2 separate regions of the Homo sapiens genome follow, and region 2 is linked to region 1. The links are contacts of gene promoters, found by promoter capture Hi-C in blood cells and fetal thymus (Javierre and others, 2016). All regions are on one chromosome and are shown on one strand. Each heading gives the region's core, a stretch centred on a gene start or on the middle of the fragment in contact. The rest is flanking DNA. Distances are from core to core; before and after follow the strand shown.

Region 1 (4,689 bases), core at 1,793-4,292:
ACTCTTATGCTCCTGCAGAATCTAACATTGCACCATACATTTAATACTCCCTAATAAAGCATTAAATGTTATTGATGTATGTAGTTAAGCCAATTATCCAGTGGAACATTGGCTACTTTCATAAATGACAGTTTGTGAAATTCTACTACTTGGGTTATGGCACTGAATTCATCATTGAAAATATCACTAGTTGAAATGATTCAGAAAGACAATGATTCTTCCCCTTATCATTGGGCATTAGTAGCCTTAATTAAACTAAAATGAAAACTATGAACAATTAATTCTACAAAGTTGGATATTAATTTTTATCAAAAAATGATGTGCAGAAAGTCAGAAAATAATCCACTGAATACTTTTGTGTTATTTTAAATATGTCAATTTATTAGCTAATACATATTGTACAATTTCCTTTATGCATTCATGATAAAGGACTTAGGAAGAAGTATATTATCTAAAAAACTCTTTTTGTTATTACCGTCTGCCAAGAATAGGGAAAACAGTAGTTTTCTAGAAATAGTAGAAATAGTTTGGGTGGGCCATTTTTATTAGTTTCAGTAGTATAATGGCTGGCGCAGTGGCTCATGCCTGTAATCCCAGCACTTTGGGAGGCCGAGGCAGGCAGATCACGAGGTCAAGAGATGGAGACCATCTTGGCCAACATGGTGAAACCCTGTCTCTACTAAAAATATAAAAATTAGCCGAGTGTGGTGGCTTGCACCTGTAGTCCCAGGTATTTGCGAGTCTGAGGCAGGAGTATAGCTTGAACCTGGGAGGAGGAGGTTGCAGTGAGCTGAGATCACACCACTGCACTGCAGCCTGGCAACAGAACGAGACTCTGTCTCAAATAATAATAATAATAATGAAAATAATAAAATTTTATTGTGGTTCTTTTCTACCAATGTATTCCTCACCCTTCAACATTTAAAATTTTAAGGATTATGCTTTCATGATATTAGTTATTCTCAGAACTGCTGTATGTAGTAAATAAATGTTTGTTCTCCTAGACATGGTATTTTGGCTAAGAGTGATGTTAAACTCATACTAATTTAGATTTTACAGTACAATAGACTGAGAAAAAATTGCTTAAATTTTTTGATTTTAAAACCTAATTCTAGTAGTAAATAAATTATAAGAAATGAAATTGGGTGAATGATCTGGTTAGTTTATTTAAAAGTCAGGGTGTTTGGCTTTGTTATCTCTATGCCACTATATTTCAATATTTTCAAAATAGAGATAGTGTGCATTTGAATTAAGGGCTTTATTTGTAAAGTTTGGAAATGAAAATCAATTCTTTCTAGAATATAAATTAAGACTTATTCAGATAGAGAGATTTTGGGGGTTTTGTGTGTGTGTACAACAAATCCTTATTTGAATCATCAAAATCAATTGTCCTGCTCTTTATAAGACTGTATTTTAGTATTTAACCCTATCATTTTTATGTAACTGCGTGGTTTAGAAATATACAAATAATACTTAAGACAACCCATACGTTCAAACATCCAGGTGGGGCCTTACCGGACATCCGTTGTTTGATCAGGAAGTATTAAAATAATCTGAAGCCAATGTTAAGTCTTTCTGACTATTATTAGCTGTTTGAAAAGATCTAGAGTCTCTTTTATCTGTAGATGCCTTAAAGTATTCATTAGAAATTAAATGTTTAAATACATTTGAAGATACCATTATACTCAAGTAAAATGGAAAAAGAGAAGCAACAAAATGAAACAAAAAAATCTGTGAAATCAGATTGTTTGTGAAGAAACCCGCATCTTATTTGCATGTGAACTTTGACCTTATGGCTCCAGAATTTTTAGTGAACCAGAAAATCTAAAGATACATTTTGCATCTATATACAGATACCACCTTCATTTATCTACACAATACAAACTGTTTCAGTGCTTTGATTAATATAAAGGGAAAATGATTAATTTGAACATGTCCTGAAGCAAAAATCTCTTTTTACTCTATGGTATAACATTAAATTTGAAAACTCTTGTATTGATACCACTCGATCTGCTTTCTCATGTCTTTTTAAAAAAAGATTTCAGTGATACCCTTAGTCACTTTGCAAATCACAGACTTTCCAGTCTTTCTGATTTCAAATACGCTAGTCCCAGTTTCATAATACACTGGCCAGAAACTATATCACTGGACATTCTTGCTACTGCAACAGGTGTTTGTCAGTTTCTTAAGTTGCTTTCCTTTCCCCTGAGGTGGTGTTATTTCCGGTACATTCCAAAGGCTCTGAAAAAAACTTTTGCAGTCTCTTGCCAAGCCAAATCATGACTCCAGCCTCAAAGTTATTTAAAATCCATTGTCTTCCGGGTTTGTTACACAGGCAAATTGTGTACGTCTTTCTGTATTTCCAATTTTTAGCAACTAAAATATTTATTAAGAGTTTGGCAAAGCTAAAACTGAAAATAAAAGTGATTTTTATTCAGAAGCAAATGCTCTGGATGTCTGAGAATGGGGTTGATTCTATTCCTGGCAAACCTGATGCGAAAAGGTTGTCATCATCCACTTAGACCACCCTGAAATTTGACATTCGCATAAACAAAATAGACCTTGATAACTTGCAGTGTACATGCTTATGTTTTGCCCTAGAAGTCAGAGCTCTGCATGCACTATGTGGCTAAGCCTTTTATTGCAGAACTTCGGAGTAAAATATTGGTAGAGAGACCATCAACCAATTGCTTATGTATATAATTTCCTCCCTCATCATACATTTCACCCTTACTTCTTCAAGTAAAACCCAAGCCCACCATACTATAAATCAGTCTTGGTCATATCTCATATACACACACTTTACAACCATGACAAGACAACAAGAAGACACGATTGCTCAAACCAACCTTTTGGAAGTTTCTCAGTTCCGCTGAAGGCAACCAGAGTAAGAATATGTACCAGTGGAATGTTGACGAGCTCTCTCATGATTAATCCAGGCTCACGCAGGACGAAGTTCCTTCTGGACAACGCAAGGAAAATGGCTCCACAGTTTACATTTTAAAGCATACTTTGTTGCAAAAGGGTTGTCTGCTAATGACTGTTTGTGTCAGCAGCTCCACAGGCTCTAAGTATAATCAGGAATTCTCAGACTTGGCTGCAATGATGGACACAGCCAGCTGGTGAGCATCCACGTAGGCCAGTAATGCAAGTGTAGGGCTGGAGGAACAAGGGCAAGAAAATCCCTTTAGAATCCCTTTTAAGACAGTGGCAGAAGGACAATACCAGATGCCTTTTGCAACCATCGCTGTATTCCCAGAGGTATAGGTGTCCTGACCTTCGAATTCAGCACCCCACCTCTCCCGGACTCAAACCAGAAATCTGGGTCTATTCAGTCTTCAGTCCTCCCCATCTCTCACCCCACCCCCACTCCCACATTCAGCCCATTCCAATTCCTACAGATTTTATCAACCAAATAGTCCTTGTACCTTCTCTCTGTCTTGGGTCTTAACCATTCTATATCTTTTTTCAGATAGTCCCTCCTGCTCAAAAGCCTTTAGGGGCTCATCATCACATAAAAATATATTTAAACCTGCCTAATCTGCCTAATATGACAGGCTTTACTGGAATCTGCATGCTTTGTTGTATGTTAGTATTGTCTTTTACGATCCTGTTTTTGTTTTTTGTTTTTTTTTTTTTTCAGAGTCAGGGTCTTGCTCTGTTGCCCAGGCTGGAGTGCAATGGGGTAATCATAGCTCACTGCAACCTCAGCCTCCTGGACTCAAGTGATCCTTTCAGAGTAGCTAGGACTACAGGCACTGCCACTACAGCAGGCTAATTTATTTTTATTTTTTGGAGAGATGTGGTCAGGCTATGTTACCCAGGCTGGTCTCAAACTGCTGGCCTCAAATGATGATTCCACCTCGGCCTCTCAAAGTGCTGGGAATGCAGGCGTGAGCTACTGTGCCCAGCCTCATTCAGCTTCCTTTATTCAACAACCTGCTGATGGTTCCCTGTATACAGCTTTCCTACCTCCATGAATTGCTCATACTGTTTGCTTCTCTTGGAATACTACTCCCCTCCTTTCCACTCAGTTCACACATCTCTCAGCTTGATCATCCTCTCCTCCTGGGAGAAAAATTCCATATCTTCCCAAAGCTGTGTTACGTTTGTCTTCTCTGGGTTTCCATAATATACTGTGCATATCTCTACCATTGCAATGACCATATTGTTTTGATTTTTTCCCCTTTGTGTTGGTGTCTTCTTCATTCTTTGGCCTCGTGAGTTCATTTATAGAACTTTAGAGTCAGGTAGTGTGATGCCGCCAGCTTTGTTCTTTTTGCTTAGGATTGCCTTGGCTATATGGGCTCTTTTTTGGTTCCATATGAAATTTAAAGTAGTTTTTTCTAATTCTGTGAAGAAAGTCAATGGTAGCTTGATGGGGATAGCATTGAATCTATAAATTACCTTGGGCAGTACAGCCATTTTCACAATATTGATTCTTCCTATCATGAGCATGGAATGTTTTTCCATTTATTTGTGTCCTCTTTTATTCCCTTGAGCAGTGGTTTGTAGTTCTCCTTGAAGAGGTCCTTCATATCCCTTGTAAGTTGGATTCCTAGGTATTTTATTCTCTTTGTAGCAATTGTGAATGGGAGTTCACTCATGATTTGGCTCTCTGTTTGTCTGTTATTGGTATATAGGAATCTTGTGATCTTTGCACATTGATTTTGTATCCTGGGACTTTGC
Region 2 (4,936 bases), core at 1,565-4,064, 610 kb before region 1:
AGCCATACAGAAGCTAGAAAGAGGGGGTAGATCTGGAGAGTGAGAAGAAATTATATATTCTGATTGCAGGCTCTATGGGGGAGAGGGGAGGGAGGGAAAGAGAGAGAGACAGAGGGAGAGAGAGAGAGAGAGAATGAATAAATCCTAGATAGTAGGTGCTGAGATCTGAAACTTCCTTGAATCCAGTCATCCTTGTGCTGAGTGTTTCCTGGGGAAAATGATGCTTGCAGGTGCGTATAAGGTCAAAATAAGTAAGGCACAGGGTTGAGTCTGAGCTATTGGTTGAGAGTTCTAAGAATCTGTGAACCCAAATGATATGGACCACATCCAAGCATGTGGCTGTGTTTCCTCTTTTATTTTTTGCCCAATAAAGTCAACAGTTGCACAAGTGGTAAATTATTGGTTAATGATGTCCAGGTACTCACAATCTGCCTACACGTATTGCTTATCTTTTAGCCTTGGGTTCTGTACTACTTGGGTGAATAAACTTCAGATGACATCTGTTGCCATTGGTAGAAAAGCCTGAACTAAGGGGTCTATGCCTGGAAGTGGAGCACAGTTATCACAAAACTAATGGGTTGGCTGGGCGCAGTGGCTCATGTCTGTAATCCCAGCACTTTGGGAGGCCGAGACGTGTAGATCACCTGAGGTCAGGAGTTCCAGACCAGCCCGGCCAACATAGCGAAACCTCGTCTCTACTAAAAATACAAAAATTAGCCAGGCATGGTGGCATGTGCCTGTAATCCCAGCTACTAGGGGGTGCTGAGGCAGTAGGCTCACTTGAACCTGGGAGGCGGAGGTTGCAGTGAGCCGAGATTGAGCCACTGTACTCCAGCTTGGGCAACAGAGTGTGACTCTGTCTTAAAAAAAAAAATGCTGATGGGTTGCAAGATTTTGATAGAAGTGTGGGCCCATTTTGCCATAAATTTATCAGGAAAAAAAGCTGGATCATACCTAAGTTACCGAACCACCTGGGCTTCACTAGTGACCTTATGTGGCAGTGTCAGCCCGAGAGGCAGTAGGGTATGGGGCCATCTGGTAGACAAAATTTTCTCTCTGGCTCCGTCCATGTTCCTGCAAAGGACATGATCTCACTCTTTTTTATGGCTGCCTAGTATTTCATGGTGTATATGTACCACATTTTCTTTATCCAGTCTACCTTTGATGGACATTTAGGTTAATTCCACGTCTTTGCTATTGTGAATAGTGACACAATGAACATATGCATACATGCATCTTTATGATATAACAATTTCTTTTCCTTTTATACATCCAGTAATGGGATTGCTGGATCGAATGGTAGTTCTGTTTCTAGCTCTTTGAGGAATCACCACACTGCTTTCCATAATGGTTGAATTGATTTACGCTCCCACCAATGGTGCATAAGTGTTCTCTTTTCTCCACAACCTTGTCAGCATTTGTTATTTTTTGACTTGTTAATAATAGCCATTCTGGCTGGTGTGAGATGGTATCTCCTTGTGGTTTTGATTTGCATTTCTCTAATGATGAGTGATATTGAGCTTTTTTTCATATGCTTGTTGGCCACATCTATATCTTCTTTGGAAGTGTCTGTTTTGTGTCCTTTGTCCACTTTTTAATGGGGTTGCTTGTTTTTTTCTTATAAATTTGTTTAAATTCCTGATAGATGCTGGATACTAGACCTTTATCAGATGCATAGTTTGCAAATATTTTCTCCCATTCTGTAGGTTGTCTGTTTTCTCTGTTTCTTTTGCTGTGCAGAAGCTCTTTTGTTTGATTAAATCCCATTTGTCAATTTTTGCTTTTGTTGCAATTACTTTTGGCATCTTTGTCATGAACTCTTTGCCTGTTCCTATGTCCAGAATGGTATTGCCTGGATTGTCTTCCAGGGTTTTTATAGTTTTGGGTTATACATTTAAGTCTTTAATCCATCTTGAGTTGATTTTCGTATATGGGGTAAGGAAGAGGTCCAATCTTCTGCATATGGCTAGCCAGTTATCCCAGTACCATTTATTGAATAGGGAGTCCTTTCCTCATTGCTTGTTTTTATCAGCTTTGTCAAAGATCAGATGGTTGTAGATGTATGTCCTTATTTCTGGGCTTTCTGTTTTGTTCCTTTGGCCATTATCCTTAGCAAACTAACACAGGAACAGAAAATCAAATACTGCATGTTCTTACTTATAAGTGGGAGCTAAATGATGACAACACATGGACACAAAGACGGGAACAACAGGCGCTGGGGCCACCTTGAGGGTGGAGGGTGGGAGGAGGGAGAGGATCAGAAAAAATAACTATTGGGTACTAGGCTTAGCATCTGGGTGACAAAATAATCTGTACAAAAAACCTCTGTGACATGAGTTTATTTATATAACAAACTTGCACATGTACCCCTGAACCTAAAATAAAAGTTATTTTTTTTTTCTCTCTCTAAAAGGCATTTGTAACCAGGAATGAAGCTTTGAATTGAACAGTCAATTCTTGGGGTTGGTGGACTTATCTTGGATGTGATAGTGGTGTGTTGAAGGAGGAAGAATAAAAGGCATGCTTTAAAGAGAGATGAAGGATTCAAAAATAAGTGACTTTGTTTTATATCCTAAGCTACTAAAGCAGGAACTATCTGTTGCATAATATTAATTCTATGAGATTTTCCTTAAAACTGGAAAGCAGAGAAATCACTTTCCAATTGTAAAGGATGTTTATGTTTTTAATTATTACATTCAATCTAGAATATGTAAAAATCCCATAAAAGGGTAAAATGTCAATATTTAGATAACAGAGGTCATGGTATTATGCAAACATGGTGAATCCTAGAAGGCTTTAGGCAGATTTTTCTCTCTCTCACTTGGGAGAAAGAGCACATCCTAACAGTCTCTGGTCGGTGTTATTTATCTGAAAGGGGAATTTCTACTTGTTTTGAATGAAACAAAAATATCTAGGGCATACTTTGATAGGTAGAAACAAAATGTACAATTTTGGGGTCTTAGTATTTCTGTGGTATTTGTCTAATTAGAATCTCATTTGACTGCATGTGTTCCCAAGCTAGCATAGAATTCTTTTTTTTTTTTTAAAAAAAAAAGCCATAAAATTACACATCACAGAACGTAAATTCTGAATAAAAGACTTGAGCAGGAAATAGGAGTTTTATGGCCTTTTAACTCTTTTGTATGACTTACCTTGCAACTCAGTGGTGAAGAAGAGCATCATGGGAAGCTTATGACTTTGAAATCATACTGATCAGGGTTTGAATTGTTGCTGTAGCATTTGCTAGCAAGTGTGACCTTGAACCTCAGTTTCCTTATTCATAAAATCGACCTTGTTATAAGAATAAGAAATCTGTGGCCAGGTGCAGTGACTCACACCTGTAATCCCAACACTTTGGGAAGCTGAGACAAAAGGATCGCTTGAGCCCAGGACTTTGAGACCAGCCTGGGCTACAGGGCAAAATGCTTTCTCTGCAAAAGATATTAAAAAAAAAAATAGCTGGGCATGGTGGCACGTCCCTACAGTCCTGACTAGTTGGGAGACTGAGGTGGGAGAATTACCTGAGTCCAGGAGGTTGAGGCTGCAGTGAGCCGAGATAGTGTCACTGCACTTCAGCCTGGGTGACTGAGCAAGACTCTGTCTCACAAAAAAAAAAAAAGAAAAATTTGTTAAATAAAGTTCCAGGCACCTAGCAGCTACTCTTTAATGGTAACTATTATTATGAGGACATGTGTTTTTTATTCATGAGTTGTACTTTTATGTGTATACATTCGTATAAAATCTATACATAATATTTTTTAGGTTCTTACATCTTTTGCCATCTTTTCAGAAATATACATCATATTAGTAAGCATCAACAATTGATTACATCAGTAATCAACCCCCTTTGTCCAACAAGATAGTATAAAATTATAAAAACTGTAACTTATTTTATGCATTGTTTATATAGATATTATTTTACATTCATTTATAATCTGCATCTATGATTCCTTTTGTACTTGGGCACAAAGTCTAAAGATTGTATTTAGAGTTTTCTAAAGCCTATGAAAAATTATTAGAGGGCAGAGTTCAACAGAATTTTAAGGAGCAAAGGAAATAAGATAATTTCAAAAGATAATGAAGTTAAGTAAATGTGAAAAAAAAAATCTCCATTGGAAATCAAGGGAAAGGAAGCAATAAGATGCCACTCCCCACTTAATGAAATAACAAAGAAAAGAAGAAAAATTGTAAGATAGAAGTTGAAATTCTTAAAATGACAATACCCCAAATTTGAAGAAAAAGTAATGAAAATGATTTTTTTTATTATTTTTGGTAAGAGCACATTTTGAAGGAAAAAAATCATCATAGAAAGCTGATTTGATTATATTTATTGAGAATGAAAATTGTTTATTGACTTTGACTCAATATCCAACTCCTCCCAGGAATTTAGAATGCATTGATTCAGGGAAAGGCTATTGAAGATATATGTTCTTTACAACATTTGAAGCAACGTAAATGCTTAAATTTGGGGGATGGTTAAGCAAATCTCAGCATAGTCATTTAATGGGCTATTGTGAAGTGGGTGAAAAATCATGAAGACTATAAAGCATGTGAAAAATTGCGAATGACAGACTTTTAAAGAGAAAAGAAAAACATAAAAATTGATTATAGGCTATGAACACAGTATGTTTTTTAAGTGGTCCTTCTCTATGCTGGGAGGAGGCTGGTCTGGCTCATTTCTCAAGTCCTTGAATCCCTAGGTCCTGTGAGAGATGTTCTCCCTTGAGTCCTCCTTCCCTACCCCTAAAGCCAGCTTGCTGCTTACAGAAAATACCTTTTGCCCTCTCTCTGGTTCCTTTGACCCACACTTCATTATACAGACTAAATTCTTTAAAGAACAATTCTGCCTTGTGTTTTAGTGTCCTCATAGATGTCTAAATCCAGTCCTTTTCTGTTTACAATTTATATCCACAGGGCTCCAGCACAGATCCTTAGG

What was found. Contacts are between HindIII fragments. The CHiCAGO score rates a contact against its expected background, and 5 or more counts as called.
Region 2: a fragment that was not itself captured here is called in contact with the fragment with the promoter of MUSK in region 1 in 2 of 17 cell types (M1 macrophages and megakaryocytes); the score reaches 6.1 in M1 macrophages.

What each region holds. Positions count from the first base shown.
Region 1 is chr9:110,667,144-110,671,832 of GRCh38, reverse strand. It overlaps MUSK (muscle associated receptor tyrosine kinase), which reads right to left and starts at 3,042. Exons shown (of 15, transcript NM_005592.4): 1 at 2,850-3,042. The coding sequence starts at 2,928. The HindIII fragment of the contact is 6,269 bases long and covers 1-4,689 here.
Region 2 is chr9:111,277,569-111,282,504 of GRCh38, reverse strand. The region is part of intron 1 of LOC105376219 (a long non-coding RNA gene); the gene reads left to right. Among named protein-coding and RNA genes, the nearest start is that of MIR7702, 8.8 kb to the right of the region's middle. The HindIII fragment of the contact is 754 bases long and covers 2,438-3,191 here.